Linked DNA regions of Homo sapiens: regions 2, 3 and 4 are each linked to region 1. The links are contacts of gene promoters, found by promoter capture Hi-C in blood cells and fetal thymus (Javierre and others, 2016). All regions are on one chromosome and are shown on one strand. The core of a region is centred on a gene start or on the middle of the fragment in contact, and the rest is flanking DNA. Distances in the headings are between cores, read along the strand shown. Region 1 holds the start of POLG2 (DNA polymerase gamma 2, accessory subunit). Region 2 overlaps PECAM1 (platelet and endothelial cell adhesion molecule 1). Region 3 holds the start of SMURF2 (SMAD specific E3 ubiquitin protein ligase 2). Region 4 overlaps SMURF2 (SMAD specific E3 ubiquitin protein ligase 2).

Region 1 (4,071 bases), core at 1,157-3,656:
CTTTATAATGAGCTATTCATATTGCAGGAGTCAGAATGAATTGATACAGGTGAATTTTTAGTTACAGGCTAAATTGCATAAAAGCTTTGTCAGCTTCCAGCATCAGGGGAGTCATTTAATAGCCTTTTTCCTTATTTGCTAGTATGGTTAAATGAGAAAATAGTAAAATAGATACAAAGTCATCTATATAGTGTGAGAACGTGGGTGACTTTTTCAAAGTTTATAATTTAAAAAGCTCCAAATAACTGGCTTTTTCAAGAGACTTATACTCATGCTCTTGGCTATACTGTGAATTACTGAAATGTTGAACAAACCTGTGAAAGACATACATTAGCCCTTTAAGATGGCCAGGAGCTAAGCTTGAGTCTCCTTTACTGAATTTCGTTCTTAGTGCAGGTTACTTGTAGATTCTAGTCTTCACAGGCTCCCTGGGGCTCTTAACTAGTCACACTGGGAGTCATGAATGTCTTTCCAATAATTCAGGGAATTCTAGAGATCCTCAAACTGTAAGGTCTATTCATACTCAACACAAGGAAAAAACCTCATTAAAATTAATGACTAATCAGGAGGCAACGTAACCAAAAGCACAGTGAATGAAAGTTTTCATGGTAGGTTCAACATGGGTTTATTGCTAGAAAGATCCAGGGGATAGCTTTAGGTTTAACTTCGGCTCACCAACGTAACTTTCTAATCATTTATTTCAGTAATAGCTAGAAGTGGGTCTGAATGTTTTCCCAGAGTCTGATACGTGTTTTTTTTTGCCAGAAGAGAGGTCTTCAGGAGACTTCATTTAAATTCTGATTATTAAACTGAGGCTTTAATTGATGTTAATGCCTTATGTCAAATGTAAAGTTAGAATTTGCTAGGGCTGGGATAGGGAGTGATATTTCTAGGACTTAGACATTGAAAACTAATTCAGCCTGTAGTAACCTGGATGGTTTTCAATGGCATGGTTAGTCAAATTCATGGTTTTAAACTTAGAAGCAGCTTTCGGGGGAGAGGGTAGGTTGGAGCATTTATTACATATTTTACTGTTTAATGTCTTAACCGTGGGCCTTTTAATTTGTAAACACTGAAATGATTGTTGGGCTGTGGAAAACATTTACCTATTTACCTTGGAAGTTTTAAAAGACAGTCCACTTTTTAGCATGTGTGTTGTGTCCAGCCTGTGGTCGTCTTAACTAATAAATGTGATTTTTCTCCCCATTCTCTCTTTTTATTTATTTGCGTATAGGCCTTTTACCTGGTGTGAGTTCCTGAATGTGGAAAACACCTGGCAGTAGTACCCAGCTTTGCAGTTAATTACTATCTAGCTGGCCTTTTTTTAAACCCTTGTATACACTTGTAAAGAAGAACTATTTCCTGAACCTGGTACAGCACTTTACTAATGATAAAACTTTACTCCTGAATTACATTAACTCAATTGCTAAGCTGTTACCCCTCTTAATCAGGTAGTAGTTTGGTAGTCTCACAGTGAAATGTAGATTGTTCCTTTTTCCCTGAACCTCTTTAAAGGTTTTCGTAACTGAGGCTGGTATAAGAAATCATGGACTTTGGAATCAAACTTCCTCAGTCTGGGTATACCACTTTTCCACTTTCTGGGTAGGTCTTAAGGTCTCGACCTATTTAAATAGAAACTGCAAAATCAGAAACCTGCAATTTAATCATGAGTCTCTTAATAATAACAGTCACAAGTCTCATTGTTTTGATGAACCCATAGAAGGGGCCCCTGGAAGAAATTGCACGTACGTGGTTTTCTCTGACACCAGGAGGGTTTAAGACATGTCAGGGCCCCTTGGTTTATTTCTAGTGCATTCCCAGGTGAGGCAGATGCTGCTGGCTGGGGACTGCCCTTTGGAAGCCACTGCAATATTTAAAGTGACCATACCACTACCCTAGTCACGAAGCCTATCGCCCCCCTCCCCGGAAGCTTAAGCGTCAAGACAACGGCTCTGGGGTTAGGCCTAGGCCACCTGGCGGCAGCATTTGCCTAGTTAAGAAGGCCTGGGCTTACAAATCACCGTAAAGGACTAAAACTGTTTAAAGGGAAACCAAATGCCAAATTTAGTCCAAGTGCTTGATTGAGGTGTATATAGAAGGTGATTTGGATAATACTGAAGTATTTTAATTTTCTGGACTGCAAAACAGTGGCAGAAGGAAGTGACTCAAGTGGCTACACCACGGTTATAAATAGGTGGGAATAACCTTTACTGGTGCTTACGAGGAAAGAAAAAAGTCAATCTGAAGGGAGGGGCGCGACGCGAACGGCAAGCTAGCAGAGAACCATCCGAGCCGGCGTCCGCCATGGTGGGCGGGGGACGGCTGCGGCCGGAACGCAGACATGCGCTTCCGGGGTGGGGCCTGCCGCCCGCAAGCACGCTCACCTCCGTTGCGCCTGCGCCGTGGCCTCTCCGGATTCTGTTAACGGTAGTGGTGGCTTGTTGGGATCCGTTGAGTGATGGGAGAGTGTGCTCTTTAACTTCGGAGAGAGATGCGCTCTCGTGTAGCCGTCAGGGCCTGCCATAAGGTCTGCAGGTGCCTGTTGTCTGGGTTTGGGGGTCGAGTAGATGCGGGGCAGCCGGAGCTGTTGACGGAAAGGAGTAGCCCCAAAGGAGGGCATGTGAAGTCGCACGCGGAGCTCGAGGGGAACGGCGAGCACCCAGAAGCCCCCGGGTCTGGAGAGGGAAGCGAGGCGCTGTTAGAGATCTGTCAGAGAAGGCATTTCCTAAGTGGAAGCAAGCAGCAGCTTAGCCGGGATTCTCTTCTGAGTGGGTGCCACCCCGGCTTCGGACCCTTGGGCGTAGAGTTGCGGAAGAACCTGGCCGCAGAATGGTGGACCTCGGTGGTGGTGTTCAGGGAGCAGGTATTCCCGGTGGACGCCCTCCACCACAAACCAGGCCCTTTGCTACCCGGGGACAGTGCCTTCAGGTTAGTTTCTGCAGAAACTCTACGCGAAATCTTGCAAGACAAAGAGCTGAGTAAGGAACAGCTAGTAGCATTTCTTGAGAACGTATTAAAAACTTCTGGGAAACTACGGGAGAACCTTCTTCACGGTATGCTTCACGATTTCATGCTTCAAAACAGGTGTCGGGTGGAAAGGCGAGGCAGTCTTGCTGGATCTTGGGGATTGCAACTGGCCCTGTATTCCCATGCAAGGAAGTTAGTTAGTTCTCATCTTTTTGAAGTAGTCGGATATATTAACAGTGCTCTACCCTGGAGAAAACTGGTCCATGGAATCATTGCTGTTCCTTAAACAATCTGTCCGAAGGACCTGGGAACGCTCTCAATTTCACGGGGCAACTTCTGAACACAGTGCTGTCATTTAGTGCAATGTAGTCTAAGTGCATAAGGAACTACACAGACATTTTGAACTTTTCTTAGATTTATTCTAAGTAAAAATGTTGAAATTATAATTCTGAAACTATTTCATGTATATCATAGGATAAATCAAGGCCAGGCGCAGTGGCTCACGCCTGTAATCCCAGCATTTTGCAAGGCAGAGGCGGGTGGATCACCTGAGGTCAGGAGTTCGAGACTAGCCTGGCCAACATGGTGAAACCCCGTCTCTACTAAAAAGACAAAAATTAGCCGGCCGTGACGGCGAGCGCCTGTAATCCCAGCTACTTGGGAGGCTGAGGCAGGAGAATCGCTTGAACCCAGGAGGCAGAGGTTGCAGTGAGCCGAGATCACGCCACTGCACTCCAGCTTGGGTGACAAGAGCAAAACTCCGTCTTAAAAAAAAAAAATTCAAATAGTTGGGTTAGTTGTTATTAGGAACCAAGATATTCATTGTAAAAGAAGAGATAATATGTAAAAGAAGGTACGTATAAACTAATGTTAAATATGGATTGGTAAATTAAATATGAATTGGTAAATTAAAATTGAATATGGGTCTCACTCTGTCACCCAGACTCGAGTGCAGTGGTGTGATCATGGCTCACTGCAGCCTCGACCTCGGGCTCAAGTGAACCTCCCACCTCAGCCTCCCAAGTAGCTGGACTACAGGCACATGCCACCACACCCAGCTAATTTTTGTGTTTTTTGTAGAGATGAGGTTTTGCCATGTTGTCC
Region 2 (4,071 bases), core at 1,113-3,612, 170 kb after region 1:
AGAGCCTTGGCTTTCTAGTTGGGGCACCTCGGCCCTGCATCCTGTTCCCCAAGGGTCCTTGGACCCAGCAGGGCTGAAACAAAATGGAGACACTATCCCAGCTCACCCTCAGGAAGCCAGCCAGGCTGGCTGTGGAGGTCCCAAGACCCTGGGTCATCCTCCATCTCCAGCTTCTGCCTTGCTGAGTTCCACCTGCAGCAGAGTGTCCTGTGCACATGGAGGGTCCAGAATAGTGGACTTAGGTGCTGCCTGCTCTTCAGGGCCCACTGTTGCCCAGGGCCCCCCTCTACTCTGGTATCTCCCAGCAGGCCCTGCTCTTTTTCCCTCCAAGGGCTCCTTCCATTTGTCAAAATCCAATCTTTAGGCTGACTCCAGAGTTGCTTCTGTGAATCCCCCACTGCCCAGCCCAGAGCCCTCTCAGTGCCTCTGAACCCCTTCTGCAGTTTGTTGAGACCTCTTATACCTTCTACTTCATAGTGGTGTTGTTTATCAATAATTGATACAATATAAAATTCTTGGGGACAGCTTCTTGCATCCCCAGCATAGAGAACAGTGTGGGTCAGATAAGGGTCCAGGCACTGATAGGTGGATAGGTGACACAAATACCATTTGAAGCTGTTAAAGAGCACTACAGGATGGCAGAAGGAATCCAGGAATCCTTTTGTGGGTGTTTTTTTGCTTTTTTTGTTTGTTTGTGTGTTTTTTGAGATGAAGTCTCACTCTATCACCCAGGCTGGAGTGCAGGGGTGCTATTTCAGCTCACTGCAACCTCCATCTCCCAGACTCAAGTGATCCTCCCACCTCAGCCTCCTGAGTAGCTGGGACTACAGGTGCACACCACCATGTATGCCTAATTCTTTGCATTTTTGATAGAGATGGGGCTTCGCCATGTTGCCCAGGCTGTTCTGGAACTCCTAAACTCAGGGGATCCACCCACCTTGGCCTCCCAAAGTGCTGGGATTACAGGGATGAGCTACCATGCCCAGCCAGGAATCCTTTTTTTTAATTGTCATAAAATATACATAATATTAAATTTACCATTTTCTTTTTTTTTGAGACGGAGTCTTGCTCTGTCGCCCAGGTTGGAGTGCAGTGGCGCAATCTTGGCTCACTGCAAGCTCCGCCTCCCGGGTTCACGCCATTCTCCTGCCTCAGCCTCCCGAGTGGCTGGGACTACAGGCACACGCCACCACGCCCGGCTAATTTTTGTATTTTTCAGTAGAGACAAGGTTTCACTATGTTGGCCAGGCTGGTCTTGAACTCCTGACCTCATGATCCACCCGCCTCGGCCTCCCAAAGTGTTGGGATTACAGGCGTGAGCCACTGCGCCCGCCCGGCAAATTCACCATTTTCCAGTGTATACTTAACCATTTTAAAGTGTATAATTCAGTTGCATTAGGTCCGTTCACATTGCTGTGCAACCACCACCACTATCCATCTCCAGAGCTTTTTCTTTTTAAGTGAAAGCAAGTTTATTAGAGAAGTAAAGAAACAAAAGAATGGCTACTCCATAGGCAGAGCAGCCACTGAAACACTGTACCCATTAAACACTAACTCCCCATTGCCCCTCCAGCAACCCCTAGCAACCACTGTCTACTTTCTGTCTCTATGAATTTGACTATTTGAGGTACATCACATAAGTGGAATCATATATTTGTCCTTTCATGTCTGCCTTATTTCATTTAGCATAACGTTTTCAAGGTTTTCCTGTGTTGAAAATATATCAGAATTTCATTCTCTTTTTAAGGTAGAATCATATCATTTTAAAACATTTCAGTTGGACCATCTAAGTTCAGTCCTTCATTTTCAAAATTAAAAAACAGGCCTCAAACGGGTACATCTCACGTTAGCTAGAGACAGAACTGGAGCTAGAAGTCAGATCTCTTACAAAGTTGCCTTTCTTCTTCTGTGGGTAAGTGGGGCACCCTTGGGACGCTGTGCTGGGCGTACATGGGTGCTTGATGAAGTTACTTGGTGGACTGATGTGATTGATGTCCAACATGTATGCAGGGACAGAGGCTATGGTCCCTACAGAGCAGGCATGGAGAGAAGGAGAAATACATACGGGCAGGAGCCAGGAGAGGGAGGGTGTAGTGAGCAGAGACCGCGCCACTGCACTCCAGCCTGAGTGACAGAGTGAGAATCCATCTAAAAAAAATTGCTTGCTAAAGAAGTGGTCTCCTGAGGTCTTAAGACGTTCCTGACAATGTCTTGAGTGGGTGGGAGAGAGGCTGCAGTCATTGTGCTGTGGAATTTCAGAGGTGAGAACCACACCTAACCAAAATTACTTTCCCTGTTTGCCTCAGTGACACAGCTGCAGGAACCCTGGTGGGTGTTGTATTAAGTAAATTTGACCTTTATTCTTTGCAGATCTGTGAAATGTTGTCTTCTGAGGGGCCACGTGTATCTGTAGTGCTGAGGACTCCTTGGGCCTCTGAAGTCACAGAGAGAACCCTGCAGGGTGGGGGACCAGTGTGTGACAGCCCTGCTTTGCATTTTCTTTGAGAAGTGCTGTCATTTTGCATTTCTCTCCACCAGGGCAATCTTCAATCTTGAGAGGTGTGATCATAACTTGCCTTGTTTCTTGTCGCTACAGAGAACGGAAGGCTCCCTTGATGGAACTTAGACAGCAAGGCCAGATGCACATCCCTGGAAGGACATCCATGTTCCGAGAAGAACAGATAATCCCTGTATTTCAAGACCTCTGTGCACTTATTTATGAACCTGCCCTGCTCCCACAGAACACAGCAATTCCTCAGGCTAAGCTGCCGGTTCTTAAATCCATCCTGCTAAGTTAATGTTGGGTAGAAAGAGATACAGAGGGGCTGTTGAATTTCCCACATACCCTCCTTCCACCAAGTTGGAACATCCTTGGAAATTGGAAGAGCACAAGAGGAGATCCAGGGCAAGGCCATTGGGATATTCTGAAACTTGAATATTTTGTTTTGTGCAGAGATAAAGACCTTTTCCATGCACCCTCATACACAGAAACCAATTTTCTTTTTTATACTCAATCATTTCTAGCGCATGGCCTGGTTAGAGGCTGGTTTTTTCTCTTTTCCTTTGGTCCTTCAAAGGCTTGTAGTTTTGGCTAGTCCTTGTTCTTTGGAAATACACAGTGCTGACCAGACAGCCTCCCCCTGTCCCCTCTATGACCTCGCCCTCCACAAATGGGAAAACCAGACTACTTGGGAGCACCGCCTGTGAAATACCAACCTGAAGACACCGTTCATTCAGGCAACGCACAAAACAGAAAATGAAGGTGGAACAAGCACAGATGTTCTTCAACTGTTTTTGTCTACACTCTTTCTCTTTTCCTCTACCATGCTGAAGGCTGAAAGACAGGAAGATGGTGCCATCAGCAAATATTATTCTTAATTGAAAACTTGAAATGTGTATGTTTCTTACTAATTTTTAAAAATGTATTCCTTGCCAGGGCAGGCAAGGTGGCTCACGCCTGTAATCCCAGCACTTCAGGAGGCTGAGGTGGGCGGATCACCTGAGGTCAGGAGTTTGAGACCAGCCTGATGAAACCCTGTCTCTACTAAAAATACAAGAATTAGCCGGGCGTGGTGGCGCATGCCTGTAGTATCAGCTACTCAAGAGGCTGAGGTGAGATTATCGCTTGAACCCAGGAAACGGAGGTTGTAGTGAGCGGAGATCGCGCCACTGCACTCCAGCCTGAGTGACAGAGTGAGAATCCATCTCAAAAAAAACAAAAAACAAAATTGCTTGCTAAAGAAGTGGTCTCCTGAGGTCTTAAGACATTCCTGACAGTGTCTTGAGTGGGTGGGAGAGAGGCTGCTGTCATTGCGCTGTGGAATTTCACAGATGAGAACCACGCCTAGCCAAAATCACTTTTCCTGTTTGCCTCAGTGACACAGCTGCAGGGACCCTCGTGGATGTTGTATTAAATAAATTTGACCTTTGCTCTTTGCAGATCTGTGAAATGTTGTCTTCTGAGGGGCCACATGCATCTATAGTGCTGAGGACTCCTTGGGCCTCTGAAGTCACAGAGAGAACCGAGCAGGTCTATGTTTTTGTTTTGTTGTTTTGAGACGGAGATTCGCT
Region 3 (4,071 bases), core at 810-3,309, 170 kb before region 1:
ATGTGTATGTGTACATTAGTTTGCTAAGTTTTTTGCCACTGTCTGCCCTCTTAAATTGTGGTAGCAGCTATTGTTCACATTGATTTCTATATATTTGTAGTACAAGGAAGCATTTCTAAAGGACCTTGTTCATTGCTTTGCACAAAATGGCCACTTAATATTTGTTGAATGAATTGCTGGCACTATCTCTGGTATTTTAATTTTTATTTATTTATGTATTTATTTTTGATATGGAGTCTCGCTCTGTCACCCAGGCTGAAGTGCAGTGGCGTGATCTCGGCTCACTGCAACCTCCCGTGTTCAAGCGATTCTCTTGCCTCAGCCTCCCTAATTGCTGGGACCACAGGCATGCGCCACCAGGCCCGGCTAATTTTTTTGTATTTTTTTTTAGTACAGACGGGGTTTCACCATGTTGGCCAGGCTGGTCTCAAACTCCTGACCTCAAATGATCCGCCCACCTCGGCCTCCCAAAGTGTTGGAATTACAGGCGTGAGCCACTGTGCCCGGCCTATCTGTGGTATTTTTAGTGTGATGTCTAGAACTTCATATACTTTTTTGGATTACTTTTAATTGTAGGGCTGTATCCAAACTGATGAAATGTTCTCGCAGGTAACTATCTGGAGAAGTGAGTTCACTGATGTATTAAAAGAAATGACTGGCATGGAATAAGGATTAAAATATATTAATCCAAAACATTTAAAATTGCATTAATGTTATAATAGCCTAAAGCAAAACTAACGAATCACATAAAAAATCCCCCACGCTATTGTCCTTAGTAGTTTACATTGTGCTAGATACTTTCGCATGTATATGCATACAACTTCTATTCTGTTTTTAAACTTTGCATTACATATACATTCTTCCATATTATATGATCTTCATAAAAATAGTTACATGGCTGCATAAAAAACCATGCGGTTCCTGGACTATTATGCTATTCCCTCATTCCCCTTTTGTTATTAATGGAATATAGCAAAGAACATCTTCTGTACGATTATTTGTCAAGAATAGGGCCGGTGCGGTGGCTCAGGTCTGTAATCCCAGCACTTTGGGAGGCCGAGGCGGGCTGATCGCTTGAGGTCAGGAGTTCGTGACCAGCCTGGGCAACATGGGAAAACCTAAACGTCTCTACTAAACATGTCTCTACTAAAAATACAAAAATTAGTGGGGCGTAGTGGTGCACACTGTGGTCTCAGCTACTCCAGAGGCTCAGGTGGGAGGATCACCTGAGCCCCGGAAGTTGAGACTGCAGTGAGCCGTGTTCGCACCACTGCACTCCAGCCTGGGCGACAGAGGGAGACCCTGTCTAAAAACAAAAAAATAAAAAATAAATTTCTAGCAGTACAGTTACAATGTCAAAGGATAAGGTACACATTTTTTAAAAACTTTTCTCTTTCTCCTCCTGAGATAACGAAATACAGTAGCGTATGAACAACTCTTCATACATTACTCTCCAAGGTTTATCTTGTTAATCCTTTAAGACGTATCATCTCCCCATCCTTGGCTGCACCTGAAAAGAGCGGGAGTCGGCAGGTAACCTGATCTCCTCCACCAGGTGAGTCCCGGATGGAGGTGTCAACTACAAGACCAGGAGCAGAGCATTCCTGGGGTTTTGCTGGAACCATCGGCGTGGGAATGCTTTCTCTTCCCTCGCCCGAAAGACGCCAAGTTCCCGGCAGGCAGCGGACTCGGTTCTAACCTTCCTCGCCCCAGCCTCTCGGAGCGCCCTGCACGCAGTGGGCGTCTAATAAAATGCAGTTGGCCCTGCTTGGACAAAAGTTCTCCCTTAAGTGGCCCGGACAGTAAACCCCTCCAGGTGCCACAGAGCTGCCGCGCCCGCCGCCGCTTTGCTCCCTGCCTGCTCCCTCCCAGCGTTCCGCGTGGGACCCTCGGCGGCAGCTCACACCCTCCCTGACTGCCGGTGCCCGCCAGGGCACCCTGCGCGCGCCCGCCGGCCCCGCCCCGGCCCCGCCCCGCCCCGCCGGCCCCGCCTCCCGTCTCCTCCCCGCCCCCCGGAGCCGACGAGTGGCGGCGGCGGCCCCAGGTCCCGGGTCCCTCAGACAAGAGGGCGGGTGGAGGAGGAAGCGGCCGAGCCCAGAGTTCTGCTCCGGCGCCCCCGAGCACCGCCCGCTTCAGCCGACCAGCCCCGTCGGCTACTGGGCCTCGCCGAGACGAGAGGAGGGAAAGGCCTCGGCGGCCGCGAGGAGGCGGCGGGGGCGCGGGCGGAGGCGGCGCGGGCGGCCGCGGCTGCCGCTTTGTTGTGCGGCCCGGGCCGAGGAAGGAGAAGTGGGAGGAGGGGGGAGCTCGGCGTCCCGCTCCCTCCGCGGCTCATGGCGACGACTCTCGGCACATCCGGGACCCTCCGGCCGTGGCGGCCGAGGCGCCGGCTGCTCGGGCCCCAGCCCCGGCCGCTGTGGTGACTCCGCCGCGCCTCGCCGTCGCCCCCGTGCCGCCCGCCGCCCCCGCCGCCCCCGCCGCCGGGGACATGTCTAACCCCGGAGGCCGGAGGAACGGGCCCGTCAAGCTGCGCCTGACAGGTGAGGGGGGGCGGCGGGCCGGGCTGGGCAGCCGCGGGGTGGGCGAGCTGGCGGGGGGTGCCTGTGGCCTTGGGAAGGGCCAGGGTCGCGATCAATGATGAGTTGGGGGTCGGAGGAATGGGAAGGCCTAGTTCAGGGAGAGTAATTGGAAAACCACTTGCTCTGGTTTGGACATTGTTTAAAAAGCCGAGGATGACTCGGGGCGGGGGGTGGTGTTTTGTGGAGGGGAGAATACACCGGTTCGCATCGCAGGCGGATTTCAGGTCGGAAAGTCTTGGTCAAGGAGCCAGACGCTGCCTCCCGGGGCTCGGGGAACAGCCCCTGGGCTACCGCCCAGGTGAGATCGTGAAGGGGATGAAGAGCTCCCGTGGCGAGGATTATTGAATCCGGTTGCTGACTGCGCGCAGTAAACACTCCTTAAAGATGGAGCGCTTAACGGGAGGGTGTGCGTGTGTGTTCCCGGGTTGTTACCTTGCACACACCCAGTTATGCCCGCATGAAAAACCTTTACTCCCCGCCGCCGGCCACCGCTGCCCGGGCCACACACCTTAAACTCATGTCTCTGAGGTGAGGAGACAGGTTGACTTTTCCGGTGTGCCTGTCTGATCCGACGGCTTGGGCTCATTGTACACTGTGTTTTGGAAGTGTCTGATTGTAGGGTGGCATGTTTGGGGTTGTTCCTTTTAGGCCGCAGAACTTGTGTCTAACTTCTAACGCCAGACCTGCTTTAAAAACACACTTTTTTGGGGGGGGTGCATTGCTAAGTATGTGCTCATACAAACTTTCGAGCAAACTTTCTGTTACTCTCCCCACCCTCCCCATTCCTTTTTCGAAATGGAAAAGAATGTCCGGAGGGGTTGCCAGATAGAAGACTACACTTACAAAGTGTTTATGATTCCAGGTGCATGAAATCTTTAACATTACAGGTACGTTTTGCTTACAGTGCCATTTTTGGTATTCTTACATGGACATGCCACCCCCGTTTTAGGAGAACTTTTATTTGGTTTGTAAAGGAATTGGAATCACGGCGTTATCCTACCTTCACCATTTACCCCTGATAAATTGTCCACGTTTGTATTCGGGTGAGTGGTGAGAAAGATAATTTTCCGTAGAGGATTTGTGTGTGCGTGCACGTGTACGGATAAACTGTAATTATGTTTGCCCACACTAGACTTTGAGATTTATTTGGACTAATTTTGTAGTTAAATGCCTGTGTGTCACATCCCAGTCCACTGGCTGAACTTGCTGGATGAAAACTTGCAGTGAATTTGGTATTTGAGAATTTAGCTTGAATGTATGTTGGCTGCAATTTAAATAATATATTACTTTCATGGCAGTTTTCCTTTCCCTAGGGAAAATTGCAGGGAATCATTAACTGAGTGATTCTTAATGGAAAACCTGGATTGGAGGATACTTGTATTCCACCCCCTCCCCCCTCATTCAGTGTCCTTACATTGGGAGGAGTCAGTGGAAACCTTTATAGGGGATCTTTGTTGCTTTAGAGTTTATCTGTTGCTGTTGCTGTCTGTAGTCA
Region 4 (4,071 bases), core at 954-3,453, 150 kb before region 1:
TGCAGTGGCATGATCGTAGCTCACTTACAGCCTGGAACTCCTAGGCTCAAGCAGTCTTCCTGCTTCAGCCTCCTGAGTAGCTAGGACAATAGTTGCTCACCACTGTGCCTGGCTAATTAAGAAAAAAAGTTTTTAAGGACTGGGTCTCACTGTTGCCCAGGATGGTCTTGAACTCTGGGTTTCAAGCAGTCCTCTCACCTCAGCCTCCCTGGTAGCTGGAATTACAGACATGAGCCACTGTGTCTACCAAGGTGTCTTTGTAGGTAATCTGAACCAGTGAAAGTGAAATGAGCACCTTTTATCTGACGAAATTTGTTCCCTAAATCTTTTTTTTTTTTTTTTTAGACAGAGTCTTACTCTGTCACCCGGGCTGAAGTGCAATGGCATGATCTCGGCTCACCGCAACCTCCCCCTCCTGGGTTCAAGCGATTTGCCTTCATCAGCCTCCGGAGTAACTGGGATTACAGGTGCCTGCCACCACCATGCTTGGCTAATTGTTGTATTTTTAGTAGAGACAGGGTTTCACCATGTTGGCCAGGCTGGTCTCAAGCTCCTGACCTCAGGTCCGCCCGCTTCAGCCTCCCAGAGTGCTGGGATTACGGGTGTGAACCACCGTACCCGGCCTCTATTCCAGTTCTTTAGAAATGAGGATAGATGTACCAAAAGTTCATTGTGATAAAATTTGAAGCTTCATATATTTTAGTTTTCTCTTTCCCAGTTTCTTCTGATTTTTTTTTCTTTTTTTTTCAGTTTCTTCTGATTTCCAGCTTAGTTAACCCCTAATTGTATTTTTTCTAGCAAGGAAGAAGACTAAGAATAATGATGAAATATGCTCATATTTACATATTCATTCAGTAAACATTTGCTGGGAGTCTTACATGCACCTAACACTGAGATGTAGGCTCTAGGATTTTAAGAAGAGGTTAAGACCTTTATCTTGCTTTCAGGGAACTTGCAGGTAACCAAACAGATAAGACTTGATGGATGAAATAACCACAGTCAGTGCTAGAGTTAATGGTGTATGCAGTAAGGGTGAAATAAAATAATGAAAGCCCATAGGTATTTCTAAGGGGGCTTTCTAGATTCTACGATTGATCTTTCATATTTTCTACCTTCCACTTTACAAAGAAAGGCACATTAGCCAGACATCCCAAATAGTACATTGTGGTGAGAGGCCTTCCACACCACCAGAGAGACAAATCAGAATGTTGGTGAGAAGGCAGTGATATCAATGACTGGGTAGCATCTTTTCATAAGTCAGGCATATTTCTCTCTGTAGTTTTCAACAAAATTGAAGGACTTGATCAAGTTTTAGCTGGTCATTAAAAATAATTTTTATAGGGCCAGGAGTGGTGGCTCATGCCTGTAATCCCAGCACTTTGGGAGGCTGAAGGGATGGATCGCTTGAGCTCATGAATTCGAGACCAGCCTGGGCAACATGGTGAAACTCCATCTCTACAAAAACTACAAAAATTAGCCTGGTGTGTGGTGCATACCTCTAGTCCCAACTACTTGGGAGGCTGAGGTGGGAGGATGGCTCGAGCCCAGCAGGCAGAGGTTGCAGTGAGCCGAGATGGTGCCACTGCACTCCAGCCTGGGCGATAGAGCCAGACCTTGTCTCAATTTAAAAAAAAAAAAAAAGAAAGAAAAAAAAAAAGAAAAATTCCAGTGGCTCATGCCTATAATCCCAGCACTTTGGGAGGCTGAGGCGGGCAGATCACTTGAGGTCAGGAGTTCAATACCAGCCTGGCCAATGTGGTGAAACTCTGTCTCTACCAAAAATACAAAAATTAGTTGGGCATGGTGGTGTGCGCCTATAATCCCAGCTACTCGGGAGGCTGAGACATGAGAATTGCTTGAACCTGGAGATGGAGGTTGCAGTGAGCTGAGATGGCACCACTGCACTCCAGCCTAGGCAACAGAGCGGGACTCCATCTCAAAAAAAAAAAAAATTATAAGAAATAGTGAAGTCAAATGCCATTTCCCAGAAAGTTTTTTAAAATTATAGATCTTGGTAATTTTTTTTGGCATCTAACTCAAAGAATTTAATGGCATTGCTGTAACAAAACTTCTTTCATTACCTACTTATTTATGTGAATAGGTTTTCTTAGCATTTATATGTATAAAATGAAAAATGGGATTAGAATTTATGTTGTACCCTCATTCCAGCAATAAGTAATAGTCATTAATAGACACATGAAGTAATTGAAAGTAAGAAAACCCCATCCATCTCATTAAGAGATGCATGTCCACCTGGGTGTGGTGGCATATGTCTGTAATCCCAGCTACTCATAAGGCTGAGGCAGGAGGGTTGTTAAGCCTAGGCGTTTGAGACCAGCCTGGCAACATAGCGATACCCTGTCTTGAATTTAAAAACAAACAAAAAGGAGACATGCATGTCCAATTATTCTCTTCCTTGTCTTCCTCCCCACTTTTCTATTTTTCTTAATTATTTTTTTAGGGACAAGTTCTCACTGTGTTGCCCAGGCTGATGTGTACTAGTGTTCACAGGTGTGAACATAACACACTGCAGCCTTAAACTCATGGGCTCAACCTATCCTCCTGCCTCAACCTCCAGAGAAGCTGGGACTACAGCTGTACACCACTGTACCTGATACCCCTCTCCCTTTTTGAGTAAGTGGTTTGTTTAATCAGAATCCGGAAGAGGTCTACACATTGTATTGGGTTGGTATGTCTCTTAATTATCGTTTAAACTATAGCTTTCTCTTTTCTTCCTCTGAATTTTCTTTTTCTTCAAATTTATTTATTATAGAAAACAGATTTATTAAATATATCAGCATCTCAAAACTCTTTATCATTTGGCCCTAGCCTTCCCATCATACCACTGTGTTCTACCACTCTGAACTCCTTGTCTTTTCTTAAATTTCATAATCTCTTGTATCTCCAAGTTTTTGACAGTGCTGTTGCCTTAGATGATGCTGTTACCCATCTTCCTCCTTCCCCACCTAGTCTTCCTGTCGAATCTACTCAGCACTTTGTTTTGTTTTTTTTTTTTGAGACAGTCTTGCTCTTGTTATCCAGGCTGAAGTGCAGTGGTGTGATCTCGGCTCACTGCAACCTCTGCCTTCTGGGTTGAAGCGGCTCCTGCCTCAGCCTCTTGAGTAGCTGGAATTACAGGCGCCTGCCACCATGCCTGGCTAATTTTTGTGTATATGTATATTTTTAGTAGAGACAGGGTTTCACCATGAGACAGCTTCCCAAGTAGCTGGGATCACAGGCACGCCACCATGCCCAGCTAATTTTTGTCTTTTTGGTAGAGTTGGAGTTTCGCCATGTTGGCCAGGCTGGTCTCAAACTCCTGATCTTAGGTGATCCGCCCGTCTCAGCCTCCCAAAGTGCTGTGATTACAGGCGTGAGCCACCATGCCTGGCTACTCAGCATTTTTTTTTTTTTCTTTTTTTTTTTGAGACAGAGTCTTGCTCTTGTCACCTAGGCTGGAGTGCAGTGGTTTGATCATGGCTTACTGCAGCCTGGACCACCCAGGCTCAAGCATTCCTCCTGCCTCAGCCTCCTGAGTAGTTGGGACTATAGGTATGTGCCACCATACTTGGCTAATTTTTTTTTTTTTTTTCTATTTTTAGTAGAGATGAGGTTCTGATGTGTTGCCAAGGCTGGTCTCAAACTCCTGAGCTCAATTAGATCTTCCTGCCTTAACCTCCTAAATTGTTGGGAGTACAGGCATGAGCCACCAAGCTTGGTGCTCCAGTTTTAAGACATAGCTGAGGCTGGGCGCGGTGGCTTATGCCTGAAATCCCAGCGCTTTGAAGGCTGAGGCAGGTGGATTGCCTGAGCAACATGGTGAAACTCCGTCTCTACAAAAACTGCAAAAATTAGCCTGGTGTGTGGTGCGTACCTGTAGTCCCAACTACTTGGGAGGCTGAGGTGGGAGGATGGTTTGAGCCCAGCAGGCAGAGGTTGCAGTGAGCCAAGATTGTGCCACTGCACTCCAGGAGTTTGAGACCAGCCTGGGCGATATGGTGAAACCCCATCTCCACTAAAAATATAAAAATTAGCCAGGCTTGGTGGCGCGCACCTATAATCCAGCTACTT

The links. Contacts are between HindIII fragments. The CHiCAGO score rates a contact against its expected background, and 5 or more counts as called.
Region 2: a contact is called between a fragment that was not itself captured here and the fragment with the promoter of POLG2 in region 1, in 12 of 17 cell types (neutrophils, M0 macrophages, naive CD4 T cells and 9 more). The highest score is 11.4, in neutrophils.
Region 3: the fragment with the promoter of SMURF2 here is called in contact with the fragment with the promoter of POLG2 in region 1 in 1 of 17 cell types (megakaryocytes); the score reaches 5.0 in megakaryocytes.
Region 4: a fragment that was not itself captured here is called in contact with the fragment with the promoter of POLG2 in region 1 in 13 of 17 cell types (megakaryocytes, erythroblasts, naive CD4 T cells and 10 more); the score reaches 19.1 in megakaryocytes.

Annotation. Positions count from the first base shown.
Region 1 is chr17:64,495,389-64,499,459 of GRCh38, reverse strand. POLG2 (DNA polymerase gamma 2, accessory subunit) reads left to right here and starts at 2,406. Exons shown (of 8, transcript NM_007215.4): 1 at 2,406-3,053. The coding sequence starts at 2,492. DDX5 (DEAD-box helicase 5) reads left to right here. Exons shown (of 13, transcript NM_004396.5): 13 at 1-1,206. It also overlaps a transcript of MILR1 not described here. RefSeq lists enhancers at 2,129-2,268, 2,649-2,718, 2,370-3,229. The HindIII fragment of the contact is 2,967 bases long and covers 1,933-4,071 here.
Region 2 is chr17:64,322,371-64,326,441 of GRCh38, reverse strand. PECAM1 (platelet and endothelial cell adhesion molecule 1) reads left to right here. Exons shown (of 16, transcript NM_000442.5): 16 at 2,597-4,071. The coding sequence ends at 2,626. Among named protein-coding and RNA genes, the nearest start is that of TEX2, 61 kb to the right of the region's middle. RefSeq lists an enhancer at 1-34. The HindIII fragment of the contact is 6,637 bases long and covers 1-4,071 here.
Region 3 is chr17:64,660,295-64,664,365 of GRCh38, reverse strand. SMURF2 (SMAD specific E3 ubiquitin protein ligase 2) reads left to right here and starts at 2,059. Exons shown (of 19, transcript NM_022739.4): 1 at 2,059-2,537. The coding sequence starts at 2,486. RefSeq lists an enhancer at 1,207-1,765 and silencers at 1,916-2,315, 2,366-2,565. The HindIII fragment of the contact is 18,568 bases long and covers 1-4,071 here.
Region 4 is chr17:64,643,952-64,648,022 of GRCh38, reverse strand. All of the region lies in intron 1 of SMURF2 (SMAD specific E3 ubiquitin protein ligase 2), which reads left to right. Among named protein-coding and RNA genes, the nearest start is that of SMURF2, 16 kb to the left of the region's middle. The HindIII fragment of the contact is 3,026 bases long and covers 691-3,716 here.